4 separate regions of the Homo sapiens genome follow, and regions 1, 3 and 4 are each linked to region 2. The links are contacts of gene promoters, found by promoter capture Hi-C in human tissues and cell types (Jung and others, 2019). All regions are on one chromosome and are shown on one strand. Each heading gives the region's core, a stretch centred on a gene start or on the middle of the fragment in contact. The rest is flanking DNA. Distances are from core to core; before and after follow the strand shown. Region 1 holds the start of LOC105371321 (a long non-coding RNA gene). Region 2 holds the start of NFAT5 (nuclear factor of activated T cells 5). Region 3 holds the start of ZFP90 (ZFP90 zinc finger protein). Region 4 holds the start of SLC7A6 (solute carrier family 7 member 6).

Region 1 (2,700 bases), core at 182-2,681, 1.0 Mb after region 2:
GGTGAAATCATAACTCACTGCAGCCTTGAATTCCTGGGCTCAACCAATCCTCCTGCCTCAGCCTCCCACGTAGCTAGGACAACAGGCGTGTCCCACTATGCCCGGTTAATTTTTGTATTTTTTATAGAGATGGGATCTTGCTTGTTGCCCAGGCTGGTCTTTAACTGGCCTCATGTCATCCTGTCACACTGGCCTCCCAAAGTGTTGGGATTACAGATATAAGACACCGCACCTGGCCCCTACATTGCAACTTTCTGTTCATCTGTCGGTCTTCCTAGCTGGCCAGGATTTCCTGTGAGCCGGGGGGAAGCTGAGTTGTATATTTTATTAATCCTCAGCCTTTAATATTCATGCCCTGAATGAATGGGTTAATGAATGAATTAATATAAGTACAGCTTCTTGCAAAAAACAAATAAGAAACACCTCAGTTCACAGGGCTGGCACTCTCTGATTTCCAGTTCTGTCCCCTGCCACTCTCTCAAAGGTATTTGGTCATATGTTATTAAATTAAAGTGAATTAAAATTTGCTTGAAATAACTACAGACTCCCCCGCTCTCCTGGGCCTGCAATGACCAGATTACATCTCCTCCAGGCACAGAAGTTTGACATTTCATTGCAAAGTCATTTTCTTCTCATTTCCTTATGTTGCTAAAATATTCTATTTCTCTTCACTTCCCCTTTGTGTCCCCATTACTCACGTTTAGTTAAATTTATCTGCTGCCATTTAATCATCTGAGATAAGCTTGCTGGTGTGGCTGTTCTTAGGGCACTGCCTCGCCTTCCCAGACCGTCTGTCTCCTCCCAGGCCACTCGGAGAATGGGATCCAGACCCCTCCCCCTGGGGACAGAGTGTCTGGGTTACCTTCAGACCCTGGGTTTCTCCCCAAGGCAACTGACTTCAGGGTCCTCCCTGCCCCCAACCCACCCACCGCCTTCCTCCCCAGCCTCCTCCTCTTCTGTTTTCTGGGGTATGGTTTTCATTCCGCCTCCTGACCTGGCACTTCTGTGGCCCCTTTGGTCACACTGAGCAAGTGGCCTCATAATTCTTCTCTCAGTGGGATCAATGAGTAAATCCTTAAAGGGACAAAATATCTAGCAGAGTAGCCAATGTGGGAATTGTTCAGTGCCTGCTTGGGACACTGCCAGACCCACCACATTCCCAGAGCTGGCTGGGGTACCCTTCTCCTCTCTGGCCTACCCATTCTCACAATGTAACCAGGGGAACATTATTCTCCCTGGAGGTAGTTGGTGGAGATCAGAAAGGCACATTTTGCTGGGCGCCGTGGCTCACGCCTGTAATCCCAGCACTTTGGGAGGCTGAGGCAGGCAGATCACATGAGGTCAGGTGTTCGAGACCAGCCTGGCCAACATGGTGAAACCCCATCTCTACTAAAAATACAAAAATTAGCCAGGCATTGTGGCCGGCGCCTGTAACCCCAGCTACCTAGGAGGCCGAGGCAGGAGAATTGCTTGAACCCAGAGGCAGAGGCTGCAGTGAGCCAAGATCGCGCCACTACACTCCAGCCTGGGCAACAGAGCAAGACTCTGTCTCAAAAAAAAAAAAAAAAAGCCTCCTGGGAAGAACAAAAAGACATTGGCAGAAAGAAACTGAAGGTTACTCCTGGGCCAAGGGGCAAAGAAGGGGTTGTCAGGGGACTTAGCCTAAATTTCAATGAGGGACAAAGGGAAAAGAAACTCCATAGGGTCAGTGTAAAGGACAAAGGGAGACAAATAGAAATTGTTTTATAGTTATATTTTATGAGTCACGTTTGTAGGACTATACATATATTATTTATATGTCATTTAATTTCTTTCTTTAAATAAATGTGCTTTATTTAATTAATTTATTTTTTGAGACAGGGCCTCACTCTGTTGCCCAGGCTGAGTGAAGTGGCACAATCACAGCTCACTGCAACCTCAACCTCCTAGGCTCAAGAGATCTTCCCACCTCAGCCTCCTGAGAAGCTGGGACTACAGGCGGGTGCCACTATGCCCAGCTAATTCGTTTTCTTTCTTTCTTTTTTTTAAGAGATAGGGGTGTCCCTGTGTCACCCAGGCTGGAGTGCAGTGGTGCAATCATAGCTCACTGTAGCCACAAACTCCTGGGCTCAAATGATCCTCCTGCCTTGGCCTCTTGAGTAGATGGGACTATGAGTGTGCAACACCACACCTGGCTAATTTTTTAAAAGGTTTTTTGTAGAGATGGGATCTCACTGTGTTGCCCAGGCTGGTCTTGAACAACTGGTCTCATGTGATCCTCTCACCTCTGCCTCTCAAAGCGTAGGGATTACAGGTGTGAGCCACTTTGCCTGGCCTAAAATGTACTTTATTCTTGTGTCAATTCAAAACGTATGCATCTTTCTAGAACAAGATCCTATCTCCGGTCTACATTCATCGATATTTTCTATGATCTACAATTGCATCTAGGTCAAACAATCTATTATCTTTATTATTTCCCAGTTTATGCTCTTAAACTCTTATTTCGTTTAATTTTCACAACAACCCTGAGAGAGAAGAGCTCTTGTTCTTTGTGTTCTATGTCTCAGGACCAGAAATTAAGAAAGGGGTCCAAGGAGTAAGGGACAAGAGCCAAGGTTGATTGGAAAAGTCAGGCCTGGCATTTGGGGATGTAGGCAGTGGTGGTGCCAACAGGTGGTGTCAAGGGGCTTTAGGAGCGGGTGTCAGCAGCTGCCATGGGCT
Region 2 (2,731 bases), core at 36-2,535:
TAGCCAAAAGAGTTCTTAAATGAAAAGTCTCTGCCTGAGCTCCCTCCCTGCAACCAGCCCTTGAACGGAAAAGCAGAGAAAATTCTCAAAGGACAGCGTCTGTGCCTGGGCTGGTCCTCCTGGGAGAGGAGAGGAATAAAACCAATCCAGAGAGGGCACCCCCATCTTTGTAAAGGAGAAGGGAGAAGTAATTAGAATGCCACGGAGGTGGGAAGAGAAAAAAAAAGAAAAGAAAATTCGGGCCCTTTCCATCGGGCCCTTTCCAGCAAGAAGATGACGAGGAAAGGAAGAACGCCTGGTCGAGGGGGGCTGTCCCAACATGGGGAGGGAGTGGACTAGGCCGGAGGGAGAGGGGGTGGAACGACGGCGCAAAAACAAGCTGGAAAGGGAGGAAAATGGTGACCCTGCACTCAGAACCGGCTCCAGGCCACGCCGCCCGCTTGGGGGCAACTTTGCTGGGGAGGAGGGTCCCGGTAAGAGAAGACGCGGCGCCCCGATCGCGGTGGCCCCAGCGCGGGGCCCAGTCTGGGGCCATCCCCGAGCCCGGGAGGCCGGGGCCGGCGGCTCGCGGAGCCTGGCGGGGCCGGACGGGCTGAGAGCGGCTAGAAGCGACCGGTGCCGCAGAGCCCCGGGGGCCGACGGAATCTGGGCCCCGAGCGGCCGGCGGCTCCGCGGGGGAGGGGCCGCCACTGCTCCGCCCGCCCCCTCCACCGTCACCCCGATCCCTTCGGCCTCTGCCCGCTCCGGCCAAAGAAGCCATGGGGGTCGCGGCTCAGCCGCCCCCGGCGGGACGGGGACCCCTCGCCTCCCCTGGCCCTGTCTCCCTGTCTCCCTGTCTCCCCGCCCCCACGCCCCACCCCCCACAGCCTGACTCACCTCGCGAGTAGAGGGACTTGGGCGATTCCAGGTCTAGGTCCGCGCTGAGCAATGAGATGAAGTCCGAGGGCATCGCAGCTCGACCCAGCCCGGCCCGAGGGCAGCGGGAGGGGGGGAGCGGCGGTGGCGGCGGCACCTCCTCTCCGGGACCGCGGGCACCGAACCGGGGGCGGCGACGCGAGGGCGGCTGCCGCTGCCTCCTCCTCGAGGGTAGTGACTTCCACTGGGCCGAGGACCGAGGAAACGATGGCGAGGTGGAGGGGGAACTCCACGGGGACTGATTCTCGGTGACCAGGAGAGGGGTTCAGGACGGGGAAGGGGAAGGGGGAGAGCCAAAGGGTCCGTTTCGTGTTTCTCCTCAGCGAAAACTGACGGTCGCCGCCACCGCCGCCGCCGCTGACAGGAATCTGAGCCCCGCCCCCGTGGGGCACAGCGCAGGCGCGGAGGGGGGTGCCCGGGAGCGCGGAAGAGCCGTGGCGGCCCCCGGAGGGCGGGGAGGCGCGCCAGGGAACAGCAGCAACATGGGCCTCGCTTCCTGCCGGCGCGGCCCGGGCTGCTGCTGTTCCTGAGCCGGGAAAGGGCCCCGCTGCCAGGGTGGGAGGGGGGGAGGCTGGGAGGTGGCCGCGCGCTGGGGCCCCGGGGAGGGAAAAGGTATTTGCAACGACCTGGTGGCGGCGAGCCTGAGGCGGCCGGCCCCGAGCAGAGCTGAGCGCAGGAGACAGAGCCGAGAGAAGCGAGAGGTCTGCGCGAGCCGGGGACGGACCCCAGAGGCCGGCGGCGGACGGGCCTGGCTGGCCCGGGGTCTCGCAGGGGACCGGAGTGTCATCGCCCGGACAGCCGCCAACCCTTTGGGGTTTGCATAGCAGTGTGTACAAAGGGACTGTCAAACCCATTTCTTAATTAGGAAATGGCAAACCGTATCCCAAAAACCTCGAGTTATTGATTTTTAATTAAAGTACTTTCTCCCCTAACACTCCCCTCCTACCTTTGGAGGCTGAAATTTTTTTTAAAAAAAACGATCTCTCTGATTGTGCTGGGGCATCCGGGTTATTCGGAGTGGGACATAGAAGACAATTAAAAAATTGGATCATGTGAATCCACCTGGCTGTTCTAGAGGAAAAACAGGTAAAAAGCAAACCTCAACGCTACTCTTCCAAACAGTTTTTCTTTTTTCTGTTTCTTTTTTTTTCCTTTTGGACTAGGCAAAGATGGAGGAAGAACGCATTTAACTGAGTTTTTGCTCTTGCTTTTCTGTTCGTGGAGCCAAAAGTTTCCGTTGCAAAAATTTAAAATCCTCACCCACACCGCAGAGCGTTTTCTGATTCTAATAGACTTCTGAGAAATTTTTAATCAAGTTATTGAAATATTACCTGGAGTGCAGGGTGTGCATCTTGGGAAGTAATTTTAATCTTGTGTGGAATATTGATGCCAGTAGCCACGTGGGCATGGTTTTTAAGCTATTCGAATGGTTTCGTTTTTTATCTACAAGGATAGTTACAACTCATGAAAATCAGTCTGTTGTAATATGTGTATGTGTATATATATGCACACATATATATACATACATATATACACACATATATACATATATATATAATTATAGAGACTTTTTCCCATGAAATTGAGCAGTTCTCGGGACTTGGAGTGCTAGGGTTGGGGTAAGAAGCTCTCAGCAAAGGAGGGCCCAGTACAGATGTCGCTGAGGCAAGGCCCTTTACAAAGTTTTACCTGTAGACCTAGAATTTAAACGTGTGTCATCAGAGCTCACCTATCTTTCATCTCAACATTTGATTCAGGTTGCCCAGTTGTCTTCACTGAATTGTGTGTAGTAATCAATCCTGTGAACATTTTTCTT
Region 3 (2,700 bases), core at 119-2,618, 1.0 Mb after region 2:
GTCTCACACACCTAGCAACTACAATCTGTCATTTTCCCTTAATTCTAAAGAGAATGTAGATTCAAAGATACAGATACCATCTGGATCTTGATGTATTTTCACCAATATGTAAATCAATGGATAACCTTAGAGTTGTGACGCTTCTAGAAAATGCCCCCTCTGCCACAAGAATAAATGGGTTCACGAATCAGCCTCACATTAAGGTGAAGGCTGGACTTCTGGCGGTGGGGAGTGAGTTGCTCTATTACATTTTTGTTAAAGCAGAAAAGGACAGACACAAAAAGCTCTGGGAGAATCAGCCCTGGTTTTATTTTTGGTTGTTTTTTATTTTGTTTTGTTTTTGCCTCCTTGCCCAAGAAAGCCCATCTCCAGCCTCTTCCTAGACATGTTCTAACCAGGCTTCTACGGCCCCTTACGGACTCTCTATGGGCCCTGGGTCAGAAGCTGGGGCTCCTCTCTCCACACTTGCCGACAGTCACTTCCTCCTCTACAGTGTTCCATCCTGTGACCCCACTCTCTCCATTTCTTATTGACAAGAGTTCAAAAAACTGGCGTGGCATTCAGGACTCTCAAAACTGACACTTCCCAACGCATCCAATCTCAACTCCTCCCACAAGATCGCACCACACTGGCCCTCTCTACCCCACAGAGCAGCCTCCCCTTTGGGAATCCAGCTCCCCAAAGCCTGGGGTTTTCCATGGCCAGGAGGCTCCGATCGAGCCAAGCAAGTAAGGGAGTCGCCAGGCAGAGAACAATGACTGCTCCAAACACCCTTGGGAGATGGGATGGATAGATGGATGGGATGCCCAGGAGGTTAGGAACGCGTTGCTCACCTGGGGCGCGGCGGTCGGAGGCCTCGGGGCCATTCCTGCCTCGCCAGGGCCCGGCTCCGGGGCAGGAGCTGGGGAGAAAGGACAGGGCCCACTCACCCCGCTGCAACACCGACCCCACCCCGCCCCGCCCCGCCCCACCTCCGCCCCTAAACCACATCTCCAGGGGAGATGGTGGCGAGGACCGTGGAACCAGCCCGGGCCTGCCGCTCCCCATCCCCGAAATGAAAGGCTCAGCGGCCTCCCGGACACCCCCCTCCGGCCACGCCCAGTCCCCTTCGCAGGGTGGTGGGCGAGGCCCGGCTGACACCCGCCAAACCCAGGAGGGGTCCCGCCCAGACCCGCGCACTCAGAATCACCGCCTCTGGGGGGCTCCGGATTTCGCGACCTCCGGCCCACCCAGAGCCTCGGGCAGCTCCTCCCGCCCCCGCCGAAGCCTCGGTTATCTCCAATTCTGATCTGCGGAGGGGCTGCCCAAAGGGGCCTCAGCCGCACCGGGGTCGGACAATGGCCGCAGCGGTGGGGCAGAACTGGAAGTGCGCCTGCGCACTCGGAGCCTCGCTCCTGCAACCCCGGGTCCACGCCGGGCGCGCGAACTACACTTCCCAGAGGCCCGCGCGCGCAGGCCCCGCCTAGGCGGCTTCCGAAGGCGCGTTAGGGACCCTTGCGAGGGCCGAGGGAGGCGGCCAGTGTGGCTCGAGTGTGCGTGTCCCTGTATTCCAGTCACTGTCCGCCTCCTCTTTGCAAGGGGCTTGTTGCTAGCTGGGGAATCGGCCGGGAAAGACCCTGGTTTCGGGGAGCAATCGTACGCCCCTTTCGACGAGGCTGACGATAAAAACGCAAACATGTCAACAAGATAATGTCAGGTCCTGACTTCAGCGGTAAGAGTGACACAGGAAGGGAGTGAGACAGCGTCAGAGGGTGGGGCATTTACATCTTCTTCAAAAGGCAATTTTCCATTTCTCATTTTAGAGAAAAAAGAAACTTCGGACAAATCCGTGGCCTCCTGAGCAATGTGCAAAGGCAGATCTACTGCCGTGTTATTTCATTACTTCGTATCCCCTTACGCAGGATTTTGTTTGGGACAAGCAAACAATGATGGAAATTTTCTTTTTTTTTTTTGAGACACAGTTTCGCTCTTGTTGCCTAGGTTGGAGTGCAATGGCGCGATTTTGGCTCACCGCAGCCTCCGCCTCCTGGGTTCAAGCGATTCTCCCGCCTCAGCCTCCCGAGTAGCTGGGATTACAGGCATGCGATGCGTCACCAGGCCCGTCTAATTTTGTATATTTAGTAGAGACAGGTTTTCTCCATGTTGGTCATGCTGGTCTCGAACTCGCCTCGGCCTCCCAAAGTGCTGGGATTACAGGCATGGGCAACCGCGCCCGGCCCGATGGAAATTTTCAACACAAAGATAGGTCAACTTTTAGATACAGCTATTACGTTTATGTAATTATGTCTTATATATCACAGACATTCAGGCTACATTTCCTAGATTTCAGCTTGATTTCTTAACATTAGAGCATTGCATACCAACATGGTAGAAAATGACTGCAACGAAATGTTCCTGATGTCACACTGCTTTATCAAAAATATGAACATTCAAAAATAAATGCTTTATGCCGGGTGCGGTGGCTCAAGCCTGTGATCCCAGCACTTTGGGAGGCTGAGGCTGGCGGATCACCTGAGGTCAGGAGTTCGAGACCAGCCTGACCAACATGGAGATAGCTCGTCTCTACTAAAAATACAAAATTAGCCAGGCTTGGTGGCGCATGCCTGTAATCCCAGCTACTCAGAAAGCTGAGGCAGGAGAATCGCTTGAATCTGGGAGGCAGAGGTTGTGGTGAGCCGAGATTGCACCATTGCACTCCAA
Region 4 (2,700 bases), core at 89-2,588, 1.3 Mb after region 2:
TATGCAATAAAAATACATCCACGGCCAAATAGGGAAGGAGGACAAGGAGAGGAAGAGAGGAGAAAATCAGGCTGGTGGTTTTCCACACACTTGCCAGGAAAATAAACTCCAGTGTAACGACTTGAATAACGATCTGAGATCAAAGTTGGGAAGCAAAAGCCGTCTGCGCAGCACACATGGGACCTGAGTAATGCAGGCAGCCTGGGCAGGTCCCCAAAAGGCCTCACCGCCACCAAAAAGAGGTGGAACTGATATAAGGAAGTACTCACAGCCTTTCAAGTCTGCTCCTCCCAGATCTGAAATCTGGGAGCAGTTCTGAGAGACAAGCCCCGGATGGCTGGGCACTGAACAGCCGCCCTGCGAGATGAGCTGCCCTGGCTTTTTCCCCTATCAAGGGCAGAGACTGAATTCTTTTTAACTGTGTCACCAAGCCCAGGGCATACAAGAGGTACTCAAAAACGTGTTCGCCGACACCCTGATTCCTATTTATACTGACCATTACACAACATGTTTGCTTAGAGCCCAGCAAAGAATTTTCAGAATGTTTCACGTCTATCTCCCCACATTCAGGAGAGATAGTCACACAAGATGACAGGCTATAGGGACGCTCAAAAGAGCCATAATCACCAGGGGCACGCGGGTTCCCCAGCGCCAGCAGCCCAACGCTCCAGGCTCCAGCACGCCACAAAACCTTGCGGCATTCTCTAAAGTAAAAGGACTGATTTTAAAATGATAATCGTCATTCTTGCGACAGCCCCAGGAAGCCTGGCTCCTGAGGTCCTGAGCCCGCGTCTTTCTTTGCCCCACCGCGGCCGCCACACAGCACAGGTTCTCCGTCCTGCAGTCGGAGGCGCAGTCACAGCCCCACTCAGGGTCACCGTCGCACAGTCTCACGCTCGCGGCGCGGCCCGCGCACTCAGCGTCCCGGTCACCCTCGCACCTGGGGTTTCCCTCTCCACACACACCCCCGGTCTCCCTCACACTCGCCGCGTCGCCAGCACACCCCAAGACTGGCTCCCTCGCGGTCACCATCAGCCTCCGGGGCTCGCACCCATACAGCGTTTCTCCCACACTCGGCCCTCACGCTCGAGGTCCCTCTCTCCTCGTGGCGCCCCCCCTCACCCGCAGCGCCTCTCGCGCGGCCCCGATCGGCCAGCCCCGCGCTGTTTCTGGGCCGCATCCCGCTCCCGACGGCGGCAGCGAAGACCCACAGGGTTCGGCTCCCACAGAACGCGGCCCAGCCCCGGCCCCGCTCCCGGCGCGCCCGCCCATGGCCCAGCCCGTTACCTCCCAGTGGCCCGGCGCCGCCAGGATGCTCGGTCGCGCCGCCGCCGCCGCGGCAGCTCAGGCCCCGCCCCGCCACGTCACCCGCCGCCGGATCGCGACAGCGCGCGCCGCGTCGGGACACAGTTCCGTGCGGGGCCAGCTGGCGGCGGCGCTTCCGGGCCCCCGTGGCCGCCACGGCCTGGCCGGTACGGGGTCCGCCGGCCCAGAACGTGAGCGTGGACGCCAGACAGCCCCCAGCTGCCTCGTCAGGGCTCGAGCAGCCCGTGAACTGGGCCCGGCCACGCTCGCCGCCCTGGAGTTAGATGGGGCCTCCGAGGGCGTCCACAGCGGACATTCCCGCGGGGAGCTCTCATCGGCCCCCGCACCCCGTTCCTATCTCGCACTTGACCTGGGCCCGACGCCCAGGGCGCCCCCTACAGCTCACACAGGGATCCAAACGGCCTCCGCCGCCGGGCCACTGCCACTCGCAGTCTAGGAACCCCAGGAAGACACACACTCTGGGGACTTGTCCAAACACACGCACAGCTCAGACTCGTAGCCCTTGAGGCCCCCGCACCCACAAAGAAACTGCAGGCTCCCTTTGCCAACCCCAGGCCTCCCTGGGGCTCTGTCCTCATCTTCCCAAGAGGGCTGCCACCCCTCTTGGGGGAGCTGCACCTCCTGCCCCCCCTCTTGGGGGAGCTGCACCTCCTGCCCCCTTCCCCTCCCTCTGTTTGCTCCTCCATCTTTCTCTCGAGTTCCTTTTCCTCTGGTGGCTCTGGGGCTCTCTGTCTAGAGCCTCCTGACCTCATGGGCGCCTGAGCCCTCCTCCGAAATTTCCTGTCCACACCTCAAGCACTGACTTTCTCCAGGGCCCTGGAATCTTTTCCCCCAGCCTTATGACCACAAGTACACGTCCTCTGGTTCCAGACCATACCCAAGACCCTGCTCCCTGCCACCCAGTGACAGGGACCCAGCCAGAGATGGGTAGCACCTCAGACCCTTCCTCCCCACTCCTCCCACGGCCTATACCTCGTTTTCTTCTCCCCAGCCACAACGGCTTCTCAATCCCTATCCTGCTCCCCTTACCCCATCTCCACAGAGTAGGGGATGCTCCTAGAATACAGATTGCGATGACTTTGTATCTCCCCTGCCTAAAACCCTTCCATTCTCCTCTCTGCAGGCCTGGGATGACAATACTTGAGGAATCCTCGCTGGTGCTGCCCTCCTGCCCTCTGCTTGGAACCCCTCCCCTAAGTGTCAGTGAGTGGACGTATATATTTGGATCAATCGAGTTGCACCCTTTGCCTCCCAGATCAGTTCCTCCGGCCTCCCTGGCTGAGCAGAAGGACAGCTCTGGACACTTGTGTCAGCACCCAGCCCACGTGTCCCTGCCACAGCTTCATATAAGGTATGCCGGCTCAGCCGGGCCTG

Evidence for each region. Contacts are between HindIII fragments. The study calls those that stand out against the background at their distance.
Region 1: a contact is called between a fragment that was not itself captured here and the fragment with the promoter of NFAT5 in region 2, in 1 of the 25 tissues and cell types used here (dorsolateral prefrontal cortex).
Region 3: a contact is called between the fragment with the promoter of ZFP90 here and the fragment with the promoter of NFAT5 in region 2, in 1 of the 25 tissues and cell types used here (hippocampus).
Region 4: the fragment with the promoter of SLC7A6 here is called in contact with the fragment with the promoter of NFAT5 in region 2 in 1 of the 25 tissues and cell types used here (liver).

What each region holds. Positions count from the first base shown.
Region 1 is chr16:68,515,903-68,518,602 of GRCh38, reverse strand. LOC105371321 (a long non-coding RNA gene) reads left to right here and starts at 2,586. Exons shown (of 4, transcript XR_933693.3): 1 at 2,586-2,700. The HindIII fragment of the contact is 5,166 bases long and covers 1-2,700 here.
Region 2 is chr16:69,564,520-69,567,250 of GRCh38, reverse strand. It overlaps NFAT5 (nuclear factor of activated T cells 5), which reads right to left and starts at 1,285. Exons shown (of 15, transcript NM_138713.4): 1 at 877-1,285. The coding sequence starts at 949. It overlaps MIR1538 (microRNA 1538), which reads left to right and starts at 1,383; the gene lies at 1,383-1,443. RefSeq lists silencers at 490-799, 820-1,089, 1,384-1,560, 1,280-1,659 and an enhancer at 2,321-2,731. The HindIII fragment of the contact is 19,415 bases long and covers 1-2,731 here.
Region 3 is chr16:68,537,959-68,540,658 of GRCh38, reverse strand. ZFP90 (ZFP90 zinc finger protein) reads right to left here and starts at 1,368. Exons shown (of 5, transcript NM_001305203.2): 1 at 1,180-1,368; 2 at 834-901. The coding sequence starts at 866. The HindIII fragment of the contact is 20,432 bases long and covers 1-2,700 here.
Region 4 is chr16:68,263,164-68,265,863 of GRCh38, reverse strand. It overlaps SLC7A6 (solute carrier family 7 member 6), which reads right to left and starts at 1,338. Exons shown (of 11, transcript NM_003983.6): 1 at 1,288-1,338. LOC124903704 (a long non-coding RNA gene) reads left to right here and starts at 1,407. Exons shown (of 3, transcript XR_007065096.1): 1 at 1,407-1,496; 2 at 2,450-2,677. RefSeq lists an enhancer at 1-800 and a silencer at 1,173-1,452. The HindIII fragment of the contact is 30,530 bases long and covers 1-2,700 here.